3 separate regions of the Homo sapiens genome follow, and all the other regions are linked to region 3. The links are contacts of gene promoters, found by promoter capture Hi-C in blood cells and fetal thymus (Javierre and others, 2016). All regions are on one chromosome and are shown on one strand. Each heading gives the region's core, a stretch centred on a gene start or on the middle of the fragment in contact. The rest is flanking DNA. Distances are from core to core; before and after follow the strand shown.

What was found. The method cuts DNA at HindIII sites, captures the fragments that hold promoters and counts their contacts. A CHiCAGO score of 5 or more calls a contact.
Region 1: a contact is called between a fragment that was not itself captured here and the fragment with the promoter of C1QTNF7 in region 3, in 4 of 17 cell types (monocytes, M1 macrophages, M0 macrophages and 1 more). The highest score is 7.9, in monocytes.
Region 2: a contact is called between a fragment that was not itself captured here and the fragment with the promoter of C1QTNF7 in region 3, in 2 of 17 cell types (M1 macrophages and M2 macrophages). The highest score is 5.5, in M1 macrophages.

What each region holds. Positions count from the first base shown.
Region 1 is chr4:15,244,289-15,246,988 of GRCh38, reverse strand. The region is part of intron 2 of C1QTNF7-AS1 (C1QTNF7 antisense RNA 1); the gene reads left to right. Among named protein-coding and RNA genes, the nearest start is that of C1QTNF7-AS1, 180 kb to the left of the region's middle. The HindIII fragment of the contact is 2,375 bases long and covers 235-2,609 here.
Region 2 is chr4:15,227,219-15,229,918 of GRCh38, reverse strand. All of the region lies in intron 2 of C1QTNF7-AS1 (C1QTNF7 antisense RNA 1), which reads left to right. Among named protein-coding and RNA genes, the nearest start is that of C1QTNF7-AS1, 200 kb to the left of the region's middle. The HindIII fragment of the contact is 1,822 bases long and covers 438-2,259 here.
Region 3 is chr4:15,426,686-15,429,385 of GRCh38, reverse strand. It overlaps C1QTNF7 (C1q and TNF related 7), which reads right to left and starts at 1,353. Exons shown (of 3, transcript NM_031911.5): 1 at 1,280-1,353. C1QTNF7-AS1 (C1QTNF7 antisense RNA 1) reads left to right here and starts at 1,472. Exons shown (of 6, transcript NR_125911.1): 1 at 1,472-1,557. The HindIII fragment of the contact is 5,402 bases long and covers 1-2,562 here.

The DNA.
Region 1 (2,700 bases), core at 173-2,672, 180 kb after region 3:
CATCTTGTTCACTAGGTTATCTCTTGTATCTTTATAAACAGAGATCTAAGGTTTTAATTCTGTTATGGCATGGTGCATGTTCCTAAGTACAGAGAAAACTTCATAAAAAGAGAACCAAAGGGGGAGTTGAAGTTTCCTTGCTCCAGGCCTATACCTGAGAGCACATATCCTCTAAGCATTTAAAAACCTTCTGAAGAATGTGGAAATAGGCAGAGGGGAGATTATTTTTAAGCTTGCTGGTATCTGGGAATGGAGAGTAGCTGTTGCTAATGGCCAATGGGGAGAAATGATGAAAAGATAGAAATGCTAGAACCTTATATTGCCTGCAGTTAGACACTGCATGGATATAGTGGGGGATTTTGAAGAAGGCTCTAGAACACACAGTCTCTACAGAGGAGTGCAGTACAAAGGGCTCTAAGTTTGGACTCAGATGTCCTGGATCTGAAGCTCAGTATCCACTCTGGGTAATCTCTTGTCATGACCAGTTAATAGAAACTCTGAGAATATCAAGTTGTGATCAGCAAAATGGAAACATAGTAACTGTCTAAAAGAGCCATTCTGGGAACAGATTCACTGGGTTAACTTCATTCATTCACTAATTTGTTTATGTATTAACATTACTAACTGCCAATGTATGTAAGGCACTGTGCTAAGTTCTAGGAAAATAGAAAGGAGTCATCTGACTCCATTGCAAATTGGACTTTAAAATTCTAAAAGTGTTATGCTCTTTTAAAAAAATAGTTTCTATTTGTAATTGTAGGATATGAAATATTAAATGGACAATTATTCTGGTTAATGTGATGTTGGTAGATCTGGAGTCCAACCCAACTGGCTTCCTCTTGATTCCAAAGGATGTTCCTGAGTCACTTCCCAGGGATCCTCTGAGTGACATGGAATTGCTCTGAAACCACTGCATCCCAATGCAAGCCACCTTGCTGTATCACTCTATCAAATAGCCCATGTTCTGTACTCCTAAGCAGGATTGTCTTTCACAGAGGTTAAAGAAAGAGAGGGCAAATCCTAGTGGCCTTGGAGTAATGCACATTTTTTTCAGGAGGTTGATGAGAGTATCAGTGAGCAGCTACCCCAGAAAAATCTATTTTGTAGCCTGGCATAGAAAACTGGCCTTGATTTTTAATCTTAGCACAGCACCTGGCATAGAGATGCTCCATACATGATTTGCTGAATAAATGAATAGACTCCCCCATGACAACCTTTCCATCTGGCATGAAGTGGCCTACCATGGTGGCCATGAGCATTGCCTCCAGACCCCCCACCACAGACAGCAGAGTCAGCTGCTGGGCTTTGAAATCCACTGTGGTGTTTGTACCAAGGCTGTGTCTCCCATGGGTAGCTCCTGGCAAGGAAGAGCCTGGTGCAGACACTAAGTAGACTAAGGGATCCCTCTGGGTGAGCAGCTTTTTCTCAAGGACTCCGCGATGGCTTTGCTGAACCCTCTTTTGACTGCATGACAGGCAGTCTGTGATGTTTCCCCTACCCCCAACCTCCTCTCCCTCTCTCCTTCGCTTGAGTCAGATTCTTATCATGTTCTGATGACCTCCTAACCTTCCCAGCTCCCATCATTTTCTCTCTTACACAGGCATTTCTCCAATACAGTCCTTACATGTTTAACCCTGTCTTGTTACCTGTCCCTGGGAGGACCTGGACTGTCACATTTGCCAATCACTTTGTAGGATTAAATTATCTGGCCGTTGATTATGGATTTTAAGAACCAGCCCAGGCAGATAAGCATCTGTGAGGGTGGCCTGGAGTGGGAGGGCCTTGGGGATGAGTCAGCAAGGGAGGGGGTTTCACCCAGGACAGTTGGAGGGGAGTCAGAGTTGAACCTGGAAGAGTAGAAGAAGCACCACATCTCTAAAGAGAAAGAAGCACAAGAACTGATGAATGACCCGGTCAGGCTAGTAGCAAGGAGGGGGAAGCAGACTGCAATCAGATGGGATAAATGAAGTGGGGAGGGCAGTTCAACATGAAGCAGTTCAACATGTGCATAGAAAGGCTTACTTTTTAAGGTTTATGATCAGGGGGCTTTAAAACCTATTTGGCACATAGATTTGGGTACATGGTGGTGGTTGAGGTAAGGGAAACCAAAGGAGCTGGTGGGAGTTTTAAACAAAGAACCAGACTAGGGATCGGCAGCACATGACTCCCTGCCAACCTTGACCTTATCCCTTGACCAGACACATTGACTGAAATGTGGCAAGGACCCAATAGGCTTTTGGACAGGATGATTACCTGGGGATTCTGGCAGATGAGATTCTAGGGATTCTGGCAGATGAGAGGCAACATGCCAAAACAAAAACTCATGACTGGCCACATGTGCTGATATAGTTTGGATGTTTGTCCCTTCCAAATCTCATGTTGAAATTTGATCCCCAGTGTTGGAGGTGCGCCCTTTGCGGGAGGTGTTTGAGTCATGGGGCAGACACTCATGAATAGCTTAGTGACTTTCTCACAGTAATGAGGGAGTTCTTACTCTATTAGTTCACTGATTGTTAAAAACAAGCCTGGCACCCCCTCCCTTCTCTCTTGCTTCCTCTCTTGCCATGTGACACACCTGCTCCCCTTGCCTTCTGCTATAAGTAAAAGCTTCCTGAGGCTGTCACTGGAAACCAAGCAAGTTCTGGAGGCTCTCACTGGAAACCAACCAAGTTCTGGAGCCATGCTTCTTGTACAGCCTGC
Region 2 (2,700 bases), core at 99-2,598, 200 kb after region 3:
TTCGGCATCCTGGATAAGTTCCACATCTTTCTGCCACTTCTCTCTCTCTCTCTCTCTCTCTCCCTCTGTCTTCTTTTTCTCTCTGTAATTGATGTATAGTGTTCCATGGTGAGGTGTACCTATTGTAACTCTGCAGTTTCCTTTCTAGGTAGTCTGCTGCCTTTATTCAGCAGAAGATCAAAGATCCCACCCATGCATGGTATCTCAAGGACTGGAGGGGGAAAAAAAGACAGCAAGTGGGAGTGCCCTCATTTGAGACTATATTTGAGTGAGCATTAAGTAGTGAGTAGCTGAACCTGTAGAGGCTGAAGGGCCTAGAGGCATTGTGGACAAGGCTCCTTGGCAGCTGAAAGATGAGCGGTGTGCTATGAATCCCACCTTACCTATAAGAATGGTACACTTTAATTGGAGGGTTCTTATGGTTTCTATTTTAAGCTTCATTCATATATCATTTATTCAGTCAACAAACATTTTTGAGTGTCTACTCTGAGGCAACCAGGAATGCAGAAATAAATTTTCTTAATAGATACAAACTGATAAGTATCCACAGAGCAATTGCATTCTATGGGACACAATTCATTTGCATTGATCTGGTCACAAATATTTGCATGACTCAGCTTTCTACAATTTACAGAGTAGTAGAAGGATTCAAAGACAATGAGGCTGGGCGTGGTGGCTCACATGGTGGCTCAATCCCAGCACTTTGGGAGGCCAAGGCGGGCAGATCACTTGAGGTCAGGAGTTCGTGACCAGCCTGGCCAACATCGTGAAACCCTGTCTCCGCTAAACATACAAAAATTAGCTGAGCATGGTGGCACACGCCTGTAATCCCAGCCACTTGGGAGGCGGAGGCAGGAGAATCGCTTGAACCTGGGAGGAGGAGGTTGCAGTGAGCTGAGATGGTGCCACTGCACTGCAGCCTGGGTGACAGAGCAAGACTCTGGCTCAAAAGAAAAAAAAAAAATTAAAAGACAATGAAAGGCAGAGATCACCCAGAAAGGTATATTAGGCTGAACATCCGGGAAGTTTTTTCTTCCTCTCATTTTAAAGACTTTCAGAATTTTAATGGACAAATATCACATTAACATACAACCGAAAAAAATGTGGCACGTAAATGCCAAGACCATGGAGATAAAGGCAGTTTAAAAACAGCAGAATTAATTTATCTGTAAGATGACTTTGGTAGGAGGAAAGTACACCAATCTTTCTACAAAACAGCAAGGAAGTACGGGGGCTGATGTATTTAGCACACATTGTTACTTGATATTGGAGGGCCCGCATAGGAACACTTGATGTTTATTAGTGGGTGATGGGGATTTCATCATAGATTGCAGCTATTTCCTTTAACCTGAACTTCAGGTCAGCTGGAACCTCCCAGACATCAGCAAATGTAAGCCCAAGCCTCTTCCTCTCCAGGTGCTCTGATTACCCAGGTGCTTCTTGTTCAGTTCCAGCTCCTGCTTCGTTTCTTGCCTGAGGGTTGTATCTCTTTTTTGATCCCAGCTTCGCTGGCTTTGACCCTAAGTTTTTCCAAGAAAATAGGACTTCACTTTCTTCCTTTCATCCCTGTGATATTGTTCTGATTATAAGATTGCGATGGTTAATATTAAGTGTCAACTTGATTGGATTGAAGGATGCAAAGTATTGTTTCTGGATGTATCTGGGTGTTTCTGGGTATGGCCAGAAGAGATTAACATTTAAATCCGTAGACTGGGAGATGAACACCCACGAACAATGTGGGTGGACACCATCCCATCGGCTGCCCACGTAGCTAGGAAAAGCAGGCAGAAGAAGGTGGAAGAAGCCGATTTGCTGAGTCTTCAGGCCTCCATCTTTCTCCCGTGCTGGATGCTTCCTGCACTCCAACATCAGACTCCAAGTTCTTTGGCTTTTGGACTCTTGGACTTACACCAGGGGTTTGCCAGGGGCTCTTGGGCCTTCGGCCACAGACTGAAGGCTGCACTGTCAGCTTGTCCACTTTTGAGGTGTTGGCACTTGGACTGATCCACCACTGGCTTCCTCGCTCCCCAGCTTGCAGACGGCCTATTGTGGGACTTCACCTTGTGATCAGGTGAGTCAATTCTCCTTCATAAACTCCCTTTCATATATACAAATATCCTATTAGTTCTGTCCGTCTAGAGAAACCTGACTGACACAAGGGGTCATATCCAATCATTGAGACTTTTGGAGTATCCTGGATAGAGGCCATCCTGTGTCTCCCACCAGCTGAGCTCAGAAAATAGAGAAAAACTGCAAGCTTTTGGAGAACCTTCAAACATCATGTTTAAAGAAAATTTAATTTACTTTCTTTTGGCTGAGCTCTTGTTTTGAACCCATACATCAGCTGAAGTGGGTTGTCTTTTGAAATTCAAGTGAAAAGACTTAAATCTAATTCTGTATACTGCAAGGGTTATTTATCTTTTCCCATCTCTGAAGGGATTTGAAGGGTGGGGCAGGATGGGATAGTTTAAGCCTTTTCCAATCATCTCTAAATCTCCCGCTGCCCATATATTCATTGGGTAATTGGTTGTGACAGTTTTGTCACAATGCTCAGCAAAGTGTATCCTTGTTCTGTTTCAAATTGAACCTCTTCCTTCACTGATTTCCACCAAAAATATCTACCCACACAAGACCCACGTGAGTGCTTGTTTGGCTTAATGGGGATGAGGGTTAGGTAGCAATGCACAAATCACTCCTAAC
Region 3 (2,700 bases), core at 104-2,603:
GAATTTATGGTTTCATGGGTATAGAGAGTTTCAGTTTGGGAAGACGAAGAAGTCCTGGAGAGATGGTGATGATACTGCATAACAAAATGAATGTATTTAATGCTGCAGAACCGTACACATAAGAATGGTTGAAATGGTAAATTTTATGATATGTATATTTTACCATAATTAAAAAAACTGAATAAAAATGAATTGGAATGCAGGGAGAGCCCAGTATTCTTATTTCTGTGCCAGGTGTTTTAAGGACATCTTTTACTTTATCCTCACACCACTTGTTATGAAGTAAGTGCTATTACCTTCACTTTATAAGTAAGAACATTGATACTCTGTGGGCTCAAGTCCACACAGGCATGAAATGGTGCAGCCAGAATTTGTACTGAGTTCTTTTGTCTTCAAACACTTGAGTTTGTCCCTACATCATGTGAGGGAAACTATAACATATTACTTCATGACAAAGGGCTGGACTTGATAATTAATTCAAGTTGAAAATGTGCTTTGCCTGGAAATCATTAAGAAGAGAATAGGTAACCAGGAAAAGCCAAAACGGGACATTTTCTTGGCCTGCAGAGGTGGAGATTTCACAACAGCAAGCTCTGTGTTTCTCTTGTTGCACTGGGAGTGGCACTGTGATTGGGACAGGATGGAGACCTGAGCTGCTCATGCCTCAGTTCCTTTTATGTTGTTGTTCACCAGTTCTTTGCTTTTGGGGGCTCCAATTTTCCTCTGCAGAACTGCTTTTCCTGTTTGCCATGAATTAACCTCCTTCTCCTCCTGGCACTACTCAAGTCCCTGCAAGGCCACACAATTGCACTGTGTTATGGCTATCTATTGACTTGCTTGTTTCCCCACTAAAATGCAAACTCTAGGACAGAGACTAGTCTACAGTAGAGGCTCAATGAAGAAAAAAAAATTCATCAATATTTATTATTGTCAACAGTTCATTATTGATAAAGTTTTGACTACTTTATGGCACAGTGATTAAAAAAAACCCTGACATTTGCAAAACATTTTATATCCTAGAGAGCAATGCTAAGCCCATATCGTCCTCCCCAAAACCATCTTGTGGTAGGTTAGATGGGGAACCAAGGTCCTGAGAAGTCCCGCAACTTGTCTATGGTTAGAAAGCTAGTGTCAGTCCAGAGACTTGAAGCTAGGTCTTCAGTTTTATGGATTCTTCCTACAGAGCCATCTGTTTAATAAGCTAAAAAGCTCCCGTCACGAGAACAGGCCATTGCATCTACATTTGCCAAAATTCTAAAAAAAAGAGTAAACACCATACCTTGCTCTTAGATGGTGGGCTGCTGCAGGATTCTAAATCCACAAGAGACTGAGGATCTTTCATGAGAGCTCAGTGAAAAACTTGCTTTGGTACCAGACAGAATAACAGATCCAAATTCTCAAAGATTTCCAAATAGTTGTGCTAAAAATAATTTTCTCGTTTAGTCCCAAAGAGCCAAAGGCCCTGGAAGTCATTCATCGAGTGAGGCTCAACTCGGGGACCAGTTAAAATTACAGTTTTGTTTGGGATAAACTTTAAGTGCCTGCTTTCCTTCAGTGGTAAGTTTAGAGCTTCTCCATCTCTGTGTGTTGTGGCCTCTTTTTCAGATTTGTTTACTTAATTTTTTCCCTCTTCATTTGTTTTCCACTGAGTGAATGTTTCAGGAAAAAAATTACTCACTGACTGGAAATTAGTTGTTAACTTAGAGAAAAAAGCCATTTTATATTTGAGAGTTTTGGAGGTAGAGCCTTTAGATTCTGGACCTAGGATGGTGTCTTGTGGAATAATGAACACTGTCCCTATTCTTGGTAAATATGGCAGGAAAATAGCCCCTCATTCTATGTGCTGTGCAAAGAAAGAGGGTTATGAGAATTGCACTGATTTTGTTTTCTTTGTTCTTTGCTGAATGGATAAATGATTGGGTATTTTTAGAAAACTAATATGTCTTTGTGCCTGTAAAGAACTGATCATAACATCTCAAAAGGCAGAATGATTCTCCAAAGCATATGACTAGTCGTCTATGGTGCAATCAATTTCTTTGTTTCCTTCTGCTATGTATTTCTTATATTTCCTTGGCAACAGCAATATATAATTTATGATGTCATTTATGGAAATTAGACGACTGAAAAAAATCTTGTTTTTATCTTTCTTTTCCTCTCATTCTTCTCAAGCAATGAGAACTCTAATTGAAAGGAATGTTTCCAGAGTTAGTGAAGTGGATGTTGACCACACACTTGACCAACGAGATTGCTGGGCTCCCCGTTCTGACCAGCTTAATTTTGCCTTTGGGATCCACTCTCCACACTGGAGGAAATGGTCCTTTGAATTTGTTGGCTTTCCAAAATCTTAATGCCATCATAGGATGGTCAAAACAATGTCTTGAGCATAGAAGCTAGTCATAACTTATTGCTAAATTAGAGTCAGATTTTAATCAGATAAAGTCTCTGTGTCTGTTTTCTCACTTTCAAAATAAGATGGTTGTCCTTGATTATTTCCAGGGTTTCTCATAGTTCTTAATATTCTCGAACCAAATGATGGTGTCTGATGTCACCCATTTACAAGCTTAATTTCAGGTGATACAGCCTTTTAATATGTTCATTTATTTGTTTATAAGTGATAACTTCTTAAGTGGGCTTTTTCCATTATGTCTGCTTTGGAGTAGCCCAGTCTCTGCCAGGGAGCTCAGAAGTGGATGAATTTGT